3 separate regions of the Homo sapiens genome follow, and regions 1 and 3 are each linked to region 2. The links are contacts of gene promoters, found by promoter capture Hi-C in blood cells and fetal thymus (Javierre and others, 2016). All regions are on one chromosome and are shown on one strand. Each heading gives the region's core, a stretch centred on a gene start or on the middle of the fragment in contact. The rest is flanking DNA. Distances are from core to core; before and after follow the strand shown.

Region 1 (3,875 bases), core at 1,088-3,587, 340 kb after region 2:
ACGCCCGGCTAATTTTTTATATTGTTAGTAGAGACGGGGTTTCACCATGTTAGTCAGGCTGGTCTCCAACTCCTGACCTCAGGTGATCCACCTGTCTTGGCCTCCCAAAATGCTGGGATTATAGGCGTGAGCCACCTCGCCCAGCCAGCTTTTTGTTTTGTTTTGTTTTGTTTTTGAGACAGAGTCTCACTCTCTCACCCAGGCTGGAGTGCAGTGGCGATCTCGGCTCACTGTATCCTCTGCCTCCCCGGTTCAAGCGATTCTCCTGCCTCAGCCTCCTGAGTAGACGGGATTATAGGCGCACACCACCACACCTGGCTAATTTTTTGTATTTTTAGTAGAGATGGGGTTTCACCATGTTGGTCAGGCTGGTCTTGAACTCCTGACCTCGTGATCCGCCCGCCTCGGCCTCCCAAAGTGGTGGGATTTAGCCACCGCACCCAGTGGCTTAAAAGTTTTTTTACTTGTTTGTTTTTTGGTTTACACTAGGAATATAGAGGTACTTCCTCACCTTGAAAAACAGCATCTACAAAACTCCCACAACTAATGTCATACTTAATGGTGAGAGACTGAATGCATTCGCCACCCCCCCTTTTTTTTTTTGAGACGGAGTCTCGCTCTTGCCCAGGCTGGAGTGCAGTGGCGGGATCTTGGCTCACTGCAAGCTCCGCCTCCCGGGTTCACGCCATTCTCCTGCCTCAGCCTTCCGAGTAGCTGCGACTACAGGCGCCCACCACCACGCCCGGCTAATTTTTTTTGTATTTTTTAATAAAGACGAGGTTTCACTGTGTTAGCCAGGATGGTCTTGATCTCCCGACCTTGTGATTCACCCGCCTCGGCCTCCCAAAGTGCTGGGATTACAGGCGTGAGCCACCGCGCCCGGCCTGCATTCCCCTTAAAACAGGGAACAAGGCAAGGATGTCTAATGTTATCACTTTTATTTAACAGACTACTGGAAATCTGCACAATAAGGAAGAAAAAGAAAAAGCACTCAGCTTAGAAAAAAAAAAACTCCCTATTTATTTGCAGATGAAATTATTATCTATGTAAAAATTCCAAGGAATCTATACAACCCCCCCTAAAATTAGTAAGGGAGTTCAGCAAGATGGCAGGTTACAAGATCCGCACACGAAACCAGTTATTCAGAATGCAGCACAGAGGGACAAAAAGATGGAAAATATAGACGGTAGGTTAAAAAGCTTCTTATGTTCGAGTTCCAGAAGGAGAGAGAAATGAGACAGGCATCTGAAGAAAAATGACTGCGATTTCCCAAAACTGGTGGAAGATACCAACCCACATATTATAGAAATCCAAAGACTTCCAAGCAAGAAACAAAACAAAAGGAAGAAAAAATATCCCACTTAGACTTATGATAGCGAAACTGCAGAACAGTGAAAGATGGAGAGCTGAGGACGGAGAAATCCACAGGGGCCAAGTGAAAACAACGTTTACACCTTGGACTTAACGATAAAAGCGAACTCGTACTTGCACAGTCATTGGCGCCTGCCAAACCCCTTACACATATTAGGTGATTTACTCCTCACAGCAAATGTATTAGGTAGATTCTATTACTGCTTGTATTTTACAGATGAGGGAGTTGAGATTTGGTTATTTGCCCAAAGGAGCACACTTTATCGATGTAGCGATAGGATTTTGAACAAGGTAGTTCTCGCTCCAGTTTTGTGCCCTTAACCACTACACATACTTGTTTCTCCAAAGGGCACTGGGAAAATGGGAAGCCACTGAAAGACTTTAAACCGGGGAGTGATAACATTTGTTTCTGGAAGATCCTGGCACCACTGTGGATAGTGGATTAAGTGGGGCTAAAGGTGGAAATAAGCCGCTGGAATAATGTAGCCCCAAACAGGGAGGGCCTGAATGAACTAGTGAGGTGGCAGAAGGCGCAGGCACAAGCAAATGGATTCGCGAGCTCTTCCGGAGTCGAGTCCATAGAGCTTGACCTGGGATCGCGTTTTACTCCAGGTGCAGAGTGAGGAAAACCGCGTTTCTGACGCAGGCAATTCGGTGGATAGTGAAAGTCATTCACTGAAGTGGACTGAAGCGGGGCGCACAGGAGACTCGGAGGCCTGAGGACGAGCTAGGCTTTGGACGCGGTGGATTTGTGGCGTCTGTAAAGCCGGCGGCCAGCCGAGGGGCAGGAAACGGCAGAAAGCAGAAGCCGCATCTCTAGAGCTCTCCGAGAAGGACCTTCGAGAGCCCCGGCCTTAGCGAAGCTCGGCACGGCGCTGCACGCGTCTCCGGAAGCCGCGCGCGCAGGCGCAGAGCGGGGGGGCGCCCCCTGGCGGCGCAGGGACCGCCCCCAACCTCGCGCCGCCGCCGCCCGCCTCAGCCCAACATGGCGATGCACAACAAGGCGGCGCCGCCGCAGATCCCGGACACCCGGCGGGAGCTGGCGGAGCTCGTGAAGCGGAAGCAGGAGCTGGCGGTGAGGGGCTAGGACAGGGGTTGCACGGCATGGGGCTCCGCGCCCGCCCCGCCTCCAGGCCCCAAGCCCGGCCGCGCTAGGCCGTTTGTTACTCCGGGGGCGCGGCGCGGCGGGCCGGGTGCTCGGCGGCCTGAGGCCGGGTGCGCATTCTGCGGCCCGCCGGCGGTTCAGCTTCCCGGCTGTGCGAATCCGGAGCCGGGAGAGAGCCGGGAGCGCGGGAGGGGGAGGGGAAGCGGCAGCCGCAGGAGGGGGCGTGGAGGGAGGACGGTGCCGGGGCCCGGGGAGAGGGCGCTAGGAAGGGCGAGCGTCAGTGAGCCGCGGGGGTGGGCGAGGCGGGCTAGTCCGTGATCTTTGCGGGGAGGGGGTGGGGAAGGAGGCTAGTGTGGGAGGGGGACCCAGTCACCCCGTCTGGACTTTGGAGGCTGGTGGGGAGCGTGTTCTTTTTGGTACTGGGAGTAGATCCGTTGAATGGAGGTTTTTGATAGACAGGGTTGTGATGTGTTTGGGAACATCTAGAAGGTGACAGGCGAGGGAGAAGAACACATTCCGGAGAATTCAGAATTGTGACAGGCACCCAAGGCCCAATGCACTCTGGTGGCTAAGCTCTTCCTGCCCCCGCGTCTCGGCTTGGGCACCCGGGAGGCCCCTCTCACCTGAAGCTGCCCTTCTAGGTTTCCATAGCAACTGGCAGCCCGGTGTCGGCGGCCTCTCTTGAGCCTGCGGGGAGGGGAGCGAGTTGACGCTGAAAGGCTGCTCACCTTTCCCTCTCCTGGTAGCGATACCTTTTGTGCGTGGGAGTGGACATCGCCCAAGTTCTGCGTTAGCCTGGGCTCTTGACTCATGGTTTCCGTGAATCCTCTAAAGTATATGCAAAATTTCGCGTGTGTGTGTATTTTTCTGGAGACATGCTTTATACATTCAGGGGTCCATCACCCCCAAAGGTCTAGACTGTCTTAGTCCTAAACGGCTCCTCCTCCCCGTATCTTCCATCTCTCCACAGGGTGGTTTAGTGTGGGCAAGCTTGCGTTTACGAGTCTAATATCAGGATTTCATTTTGGCCAGACTTAAGTGTTTGCATTTAAAAGGTATCATTCATGTCCTTGTTTTTCATCTCTCAGGAAACATTGGCAAATTTGGAGCGACAGATCTATGCTTTTGAGGGAAGCTACCTGGAAGACACTCAGATGTATGGCAATATTATTCGTGGCTGGGATCGGTATCTGACCAACCAAAAGTGAGTGTCGAAAGCCTGTAGTGTTCCTATTGTGCCCTAGTAACGTTTGTTTTTAGGACTGTATGCTCTTAGTGGCAACTTTGCTGGAGGCAGTAGTAAAGTAGTGGTGTGATCTGGACTTGAACTCTTGGACTCTGGCTCAGGCACTGCCTCACCGAATAATCTTAGACAAGGCTCACATCTGTAAAATAGCGA
Region 2 (3,925 bases), core at 17-2,516:
GGGAGACCCCGTCTCTAAAAATAAAATGTAAAATCACTGAAAAAATGAGTGTTCGGTGAAACAAGTGGGATTTTCTGGGCCAGCAAGTCTTCCAAACTGTATATGATGCATCCTGTCTCCATGTGTAATATATTTTAATGATAAATGTATTTTTAACAGTGGCGGTTGTGTATGTTTTTATGTCTTAAGAGATGGCAGTTCGCTGCAGCTGGATTTTGTGGCTCAAGCCTTGGGGCCAAAGAGACATATTCCTGGCAGTCTGGTGGGTACCAGTCACTATTCACATACTTCCAGCAAGAAATGGTTATGGCACTGACCTGAACCCCTTGACCCCTGGTCTGGTCTTTGGAGTTGTCCCACTCTGAATATTCGAGAGAAGCAGCTTATGGTTAAAACAGGCAGTGGCAGCTGGGAGGATCTAACAGCTAGATCCTCCAGGCATTTGGAAAGGACAGGGGCATAACGAAGGCAGAATCGCTTCCTGGGTACGAATGCCCACTACTTCTGGGCACTGTGAAATGGGTTTAAGACGCGGGCCAGCAGGACAATGTGAACGGTGAAAGGAAGGGAGTGGCCGGTAGGTGGCGCTAACTGGCCCGGGCATGAGTCCCGCCGTAGCCGCGTCCTCTTGCAGGGGAAGAAAGTTGGGACCGCCAGCCTGGGCAAGCGCGTGAGAAGGGAGCTGGGGGTCCTAGGCAAGCGCGTGAGAAGGGGAAGAGGCGGCGGCGTCCTCTCCAGCTGGGCTTAGAATACTCTTAGTTCTGCCTTTGGGGTCTTGTCTTCCTTTCTGGGCCTCCTGCCTGTGTTAACTTTGATGGGTGCTGAAGGGAAGGCCGGGGTCCCGGCAGGAGAAACCCGGGAACGTCGCGGCCGTCCAGGCTCCCCTGGCGGGTTGGAGCCAGGGTTCTGACTGCCAACTGTGGTCCTTCCCGCTGCGGCTGTGGCTGCCAGGGCGAGGGCGGTCAGCGCAAACCTGGCTGAGGACATTTCGGATTCTTCCTTGGGGATTCGTTCCCTTCTCCTTGACTCCGGTGCCGCGAGGGCGACACCCTCCGGGCCCCGCGTGGCCACCCCGGGCGCTTCCCCACGCGGATGAACCCACCTCCTGGGCGCCTTCCCCTCGGTGCCCCGCTCGCCAATTGGAGGCTGCAGCTCAGCCCCCTGACAACCTGAGCCAACCAGAGGCGCCAGGGAGGGGCGGATCCTCTGTCCCCACCTTCCTCCGGAAAGAGGAAGCGGAAGTGACGTTAGGGGAAGGTGGGGGCAATCATGGTGCCGCTGGGGAGGGGAGAAGCTGCTGCTGCCGCCGTTGCCGGGAGCCGCGGAGGTAAAAGGCGAAACTAGACTCGGCCTGGGCTTGGGACTTACCGGGAGGCGCGGGACTTAGGCTCCCTCCTGAAGCATTTCCCAATAGAGACCTCAGTTTGGTCACCATAGGGACCCCACCCCTTCTCCGTTTCCATGGGGATGGGTATCCAGCCCCCCTTCCCTGTTTCCATGGAGACCCGGACCCTGCCCCTCTCCTCCTTGCTTGGAGACCCCCAGCTTGTCTTCGGATTTTTCTGTGTAGCCCTGTGCTGGGGGCTATCCCAGACAGGTTCCTTTTCCCAGCCTCCTCTCAAGGGGGCTCTGTTCGCACTCCTCGTTGGCTACCCTCAAACCTCCTGGTCTTGTTTGTTTCGGACAGTTGGTCTCCGCGTTGCCGCCGAGGGTGCCGGGGCAGCCCACTGGGGCCCTCGGTGCTCTTCTCTCTCTGCTCAGATGCAGCGAAATGTACATCTGTGGGGTTGCGTAAGCCAGAGCTAGGGGTCGGGCCGGTACCTCCCGGATCCAATCCTTTGGCCTGTCTCTGGTAACTGTCTAGCCATCCCACTAAGTAAAGGCTCACTTTCTAACCCAGAGCAGAAGAGAAAGATAAAGCGCAAAGCCAGACTGAAAACTAAAAGGGATGTGCTGATTATTTTAAAATTCTCTATTCTGCCTGCCAAACCCACATTTGTAGAGCCTGTGTTTGCAGATGAAGGAAGAATCACTATTCCAGAACATGAAAGCTTCAAATGTGGTATTTTTCTCAAGAGAATGTATCTTCCCAAGATAGTATATCTTCACGAGAGAGTAGGTAGCCATGTCTTTCAGTCATTTAGCTGACATTTCCTGAACTCTTATCATAGTATCAGTGTACTATGCTAGGAGCTGTAGAAACAAAAATAATAAGACTCAATTGATTCAGGGACGAGAGCCCACCACAGAACCATAACTTCTTGTTGACACCATATTGTTTTAGGACATAAATAGATACAGTGATCTTCGTTGTTTGTGCCTGATTGAGGAATAGCCCTTCCACCCAGAAGGTTGAAACATCTGTTCTAGGTAGGGGGGAAGGAATTCATACTTGTTCCTCTACTATTTACCAAACATTGTGCTTTACATATGTTGCCTCTTTTATTTCTTATAAAAACTTTGAGAGAACAGGAATTACTGGTCCCACCTTGCACGTAAGAAAAATGAGGCACAGAAAAGTTACCCATGTAGTAAAAGGCAAAGACAGGATTTGTAGGTAGATGACTCTGCCTCCAAAGCCTTGCTCCTTCTACCATAAACTGCATGAAACCATTTACTGCCTCGTGGTCTGATTTGGAGGATATTTGAATGGATGGAGTTTCCCTTAAGATTTGTAGCAACTCAGCCTTTCAGCAGCTGCTGTTCTGTTTGCTCTTTTGTCCCCTTTAAATATTTTGACCAAGTTTCAAATTGTTTGACAGGCGTATTCAGAAGGTCTTATGAACTTATTCAGTTTTTGAAAAGCATTGCTTTTCTTTCTTTTTCTTTTTTTTTTTTTTTTATTAGAGATGGGGGTCTCACTATGTTGACCAGGCTGATCTCAAACTCCTGGCCTCAAGCGATCCTCCCATCTTAGCCTCCCAAAGTGTTGGGATTACAGGTGTGAGCCACCACGCCCAGTCGGCATTGCTTTTCTTTAAAAATGACTTGATGGTTTTAAAGTTAAAATAAAAAAATTATTCCCAAGGATGGTTTTTCATTTGCTTTGGCTTGCTCTTTAAGTGAGAGGGAAAATGAGCCTTGTGGTTGCTGAGGAGGTCCGTCGGTCTTGTGGTATGACTCTAACTCTGGCTTTGTTCTGTTGCAGACAAGTCATTACGTTTTCATTTCTCACAACTGGGCTGAGCACAACTGAACCATGGGGGAACACAGTCCAGACAACAACATCATCTACTTTGAGGCAGAGGAAGATGAGCTGACCCCCGATGATAAAATGCTCAGGTTTGTGGATAAAAACGGACTGGTGCCTTCCTCATCTGGAACTGTTTATGATAGGACCACTGTTCTTATTGAGCAGGACCCTGGCACTTTGGAGGATGAAGATGACGACGGACAGTGCGGAGAACACTTGCCTTTTCTAGTAGGGGGTGAAGAGGGCTTTCACCTGATAGATCATGAAGCAATGTCCCAGGGTTATGTGCAGCACATTATCTCACCAGATCAGATTCATTTGACAATAAACCCTGGTTCCACACCCATGCCAAGAAATATTGAAGGTGCAACCCTCACTCTGCAGTCGGAATGTCCGGAAACAAAACGTAAAGAAGTAAGTAAAGCAGTCAGTGAGGGCCTAGTTTGGTTTTGGGGCAAGTCCTTACAAAATTCTTGGTGCAAATTTTAGCTGGGGAGTAAAGGAGTGCATGGGGTTAGGACTTAAGTAGTTTTGCTATCAACAACATATGCCTCAGGTTTTGTTGTGATTGCTTCTGGAACTTTTGGTTTGTATAGCCACATTGAAATTTGGGAATATCAAATTGTAATTTCTCGAATTTCCTTCCCCAAATCATAAATAAAACAGAAATTTCACTTAAGTAGACCCATGTTTCTGGTGCTAAAATAACTATTTAGCTTATCTACAGGGAAA
Region 3 (3,907 bases), core at 13-2,512, 260 kb after region 2:
AATCCTGAAGATGTATATTCTGAGCCTTTCTCTGTTCTTCCAGAGTCCCAGAACCTAGCATTTGGGGACTAGGACTGTTTCACATTGGGCAGCGGCCATTCCAGGGGCCCAACTCTTGGCCTCAGCAGGCACGGGTCAATGCTTCATGGGCTTGCCAGAGGAGAGACACAAGAGGCCCCAAAAGAGCAGCTTCTGCTAGCAGTTCAACTGGGAAGTACAACTCAACAAGCCGGCACTAATTAAGAGCTAATGGCCTTACAAATGAGCATTGCCAAAGGATAACGACCCTCCGGCTGCAGCATAAATATCAAGGCATTTGGGGCAGAGCCAAGATATATATTTTCAGAGTGCATTAGACACTGCAGCAGCCTTCCTCACCCTGGCTCTGCTAAGAAGAACAAGATGATTTAAGATAGGTAGGAAAGAAGCTTGATCTTCCAGGGCTGCCTTCTGGTCAGCAGGTCAGAAAGCCTCCGAGTGACTCTTGGAAAAGACTTCACTTTTGTATATACAAGAATCACTTGAGGAGCTTGCTAAAATGTAGATTCTCTTGGCCCCACCCCCAAGATGGTCTGATTTTGGAAGCTCTGGGATAAAACCCAGAAATCTGCATTTTTGTTTTATTTTATTTTATTTTTGAGACAGGATCTCACTCTGTCACCCAGGCTGGAGTGCAGTGGCACGATCTCACTGCAGGCTCCACTTCCCAGGCTCAAGAGATTCTCCAGCTTCAGCCTCCCAAGTACCTGGGACTACAGGTTTGAGCCACCACGCCTGGCTAATTTTTGTATGTTTTGTAGAAACAAAGTTTTACCATGTCACCCAGGCTGATCTCGAACTCCTGCGCTCAAGCGATCCACCTGCCTCTGCTTCCCAAAGTGCTGGGATTCCAGGCATGAGCCACCATGCCCAGCATTTTAAAACAGATCCCCCAAGTGATTCTGATGCTTGTGGTTCTCAGACCACACTTTAAAAAATGTTGCTTTAGAAGCTGCTGCTATTTGCCCATTAGACCCCAGTGATAAACTTTTTACAGAATGAAGATAAAAGTGAGGTCAGGGCCCGGCACACTGGCTCATGCCTATAATCCCAGCACTTTGGGAGACTGAGGCAAGTGGATCACCTGAGGTCATGAGTTCAAGACCAGCCTGGCCAACATGGCGAAACCCCATCTCTACTGAAAATACAACAATTAGCTGGGTGTCCTGGTGGGTGCCTGCAATCCCAGCTACTCGGGAGGCTGAGGCAGGAGAATTGCTTGAACTGATGAGGCAGAGGTTGCAGTGAGCTGAGATCGTGCCATTGCACTCCAGCCTGGGTGACAGAGCAAGACTCTATCTGAAAAAAAAAAAAAAAAAAAAAAAAGTAAGGTCAGGATTGTCTGCTTCCTGTGAAGACACCAGTCCAGAACATGGCATTTCCAGCCAGTCTCCATCCATTAAGGTCTTCTCATTCACACAAACCTGTGGTTACCAGGAGCAACATTTGAGGGGATGAGTAGCTCACCTTGGATTTTGAGAAAAATAGAAAGCATCCCTGGCCGGTGCAGTGGCTCATGCCTGTAATCCCAGCACTTTGGGAGACCGAGGCGGGAAGATCTCGAGGTCAGGAAATTGAGACCAGCCTGGCCAACATGGCGAAACCCCGTCTCTACTAAAAACACAAAAATTAGCTGGGCATGGTGGTGCGTGCCTGTAATCCCAGCTACTTGGGAGGCTGAGGCATGAGAATAGCTTGAATCTAGGAGGCAGAGTTTGCAGTGAGCTGAGATCATGCCACTGCACTCCAGCCTGGTGAAAGGGCAAGACTCCATCTCAAAAAAAAAAAAAAAAAAAAGAAGAAAAATAGAAAGCATCCCATCTGCATGATGTGTACCATGTCTGCGATGCTTTCATATACTGTAACTCATATGATCTTATTGCAGTCTTTCAGAGTAGTTAAGCTATTGCATCTGTTTTAAAGCTGAGGAACTGTAGACCTGGAGGTGTATCTTGCCTCTGCTAGTTGGCATGACATCAGAAAAGAGAGTGAAAAATAGTCACTGCATTACAATGCGGCAAGCAGGGCAGGCAAATCAAACCAGTAACTTAAGCTTGACTTACCTTGATCAGGCTTTTTATCTGCTGGTAGAATTGAAGTTGGTTGTCGAGATCGGCAAATATTGTTGTAAAAGGATTGATGGGTCAGATTATAAAAATAGATGGAAAGTTTGTAAGATAAATGCAAGCAGAGTATGAGAACAGGAGAGAAACAACCCACCATATCATCTGGGAAAATGAAACTCCTTGGCAAGACTTCACAACAGCCTGATTCAAAATTTCATAATGAAATTATGTCTCTGATCAAAGCCTGAATGAGCTCATAGGCTGATTTTTGCCATCCGTGTTTATTCTGGTTTGCACCAACTTGAGGCATCAGAAACACATTAACTGAATCTTCTCTCTGGGAGGAGGCTATGGTATCCTTGTTTTGGGGATCAGAGGGACAGTGTGGGGTGGAAGGGGGCATCTTCACTGATCATGAAGTTTTTTCCAAATAGCTCTCAGAGCTTCCCTAACACAGGTCACAGTCAGGGCCTTCCCAGCAGAGCTGCATTTAATCTCATGATACTTGCCCTTGGGGCAATAAAAGCGAAGCTTGAGGGACAGAAGGTATTTCCAGCTCTAGCCTATGACATGGCCTGCTTTTGCTCTAAAGAGAATGTTTTGGGGTTTGTTTCAAACTCAGAGAAATAAAGACTCAATCATCCCCTGCTCAATTAGAATACCTCACTTTATAACAAATTGTTTGTTTTTATGAAATGAGCTACACTGCATGAATCCACCCTTCCTCTTGCCTAACCATCTCTTCTTTGGCCTATCCAGAGGGTACAAAGATGGCCATTTTCTGACAATTTGAGGTACCAAAAAAGAGAGAGGGACCAGGCGAGGTGGCTCACACTTGTAATCCCAGCACTTTGGGAGGCTGAGGCAGGTGGATCACCTGAGGTCAGGAGTTTGAGACCAGCCTGGCCAATGTGGTGAAAGCCCGTCTCTACTAAAAATACAAAAATTAGCTGGGCATGATACCATGCGCCTGTAATCTCAGCTACTTGGGAGGCTGAGGCAGGAGAATTGCTTGAACCCGGGAGGTGGAGGTTGCAGTGAACCGAGACCGGGCCACTGCACTCCAGCCTGGGCAACAAGAGCGAGACTCCGTCTCAAAAAACAAAAACAAAAACAAACAAACAAAAAATAAATTGTAAAAAGAGAGAGGGCTTCTTGGTTCAAACACTGGCATCTAGACACTTTATTCTGGCTAGTAGAAACAGAAATCACTGGGTCTTAATGCCTTCCTTCATCCTCAAGGCAAGAGACATTCCCATCTACTCATTCTTTCACTTAATGAATATTTTTTGAGTCCTTTGTTTCAGATGCTATTCAAGTCTTAAAGACACAGCAGTGAACAAATTAACAAGGTCCCTGCTTTTAAGAATCTTACATTCTAGTTTGGGGGAAGCAGCCAATAAACTTGTAAAAAAAATTCAACTAGTGATAAATGCCATGAAATAAATAAAACAGAATACTGTAACAGAATAACTGTGAAAGGGTGAAAGGTGGCTGATTTAGACAAATTAGACAGGAATGAGTTCTCACAGCAGGAAGGGTCACCAGATAAAATACAGAACGTACAGTTACATTTGAATTTCAGGCAAACGATGAATACTTTTTTAGTCTAAGTATTTTCCAGGCACTGTTGGAGGTGTACTAAAGAAAAGTATTCATTTTTTTTCTCTGAAATTCTAATTTAATTTGGTGTCCTGTATTTCTATTTGCTAATTCTTGCAGGCCTACCAATAGGTGATATTTGAGCTTAGGATTGAATGACAGCTATGCAAAGATTCTGGGAAAGAGTGATTCAGGCAGAG

Evidence for each region. Contacts are between HindIII fragments. The CHiCAGO score rates a contact against its expected background, and 5 or more counts as called.
Region 1: a contact is called between the fragment with the promoter of MEAF6 here and the fragment with the promoter of MTF1 in region 2, in 10 of 17 cell types (activated CD4 T cells, fetal thymus, total CD8 T cells and 7 more). The highest score is 10.9, in activated CD4 T cells.
Region 3: a fragment that was not itself captured here is called in contact with the fragment with the promoter of MTF1 in region 2 in 10 of 17 cell types (naive B cells, fetal thymus, naive CD4 T cells and 7 more); the score reaches 8.6 in naive B cells.

What each region holds. Positions count from the first base shown.
Region 1 is chr1:37,513,228-37,517,102 of GRCh38, reverse strand. MEAF6 (MYST/Esa1 associated factor 6) reads left to right here and starts at 2,337. Exons shown (of 7, transcript NM_001270875.3): 1 at 2,337-2,446; 2 at 3,565-3,680. The coding sequence starts at 2,357. RefSeq lists a silencer at 2,153-2,752. The HindIII fragment of the contact is 2,267 bases long and covers 1,202-3,468 here.
Region 2 is chr1:37,856,933-37,860,857 of GRCh38, reverse strand. MTF1 (metal regulatory transcription factor 1) reads left to right here and starts at 1,266. Exons shown (of 11, transcript NM_005955.3): 1 at 1,266-1,327; 2 at 3,149-3,607. The coding sequence starts at 3,200. INPP5B (inositol polyphosphate-5-phosphatase B) reads left to right here. Exons shown (of 24, transcript NM_005540.3): 24 at 1-161. RefSeq lists a silencer at 1,000-1,329. The HindIII fragment of the contact is 3,574 bases long and covers 1-2,053 here.
Region 3 is chr1:37,596,500-37,600,406 of GRCh38, reverse strand. No RefSeq gene overlaps it. Among named protein-coding and RNA genes, the nearest start is that of GNL2, 2.5 kb to the right of the region's middle. The HindIII fragment of the contact is 1,664 bases long and covers 431-2,094 here.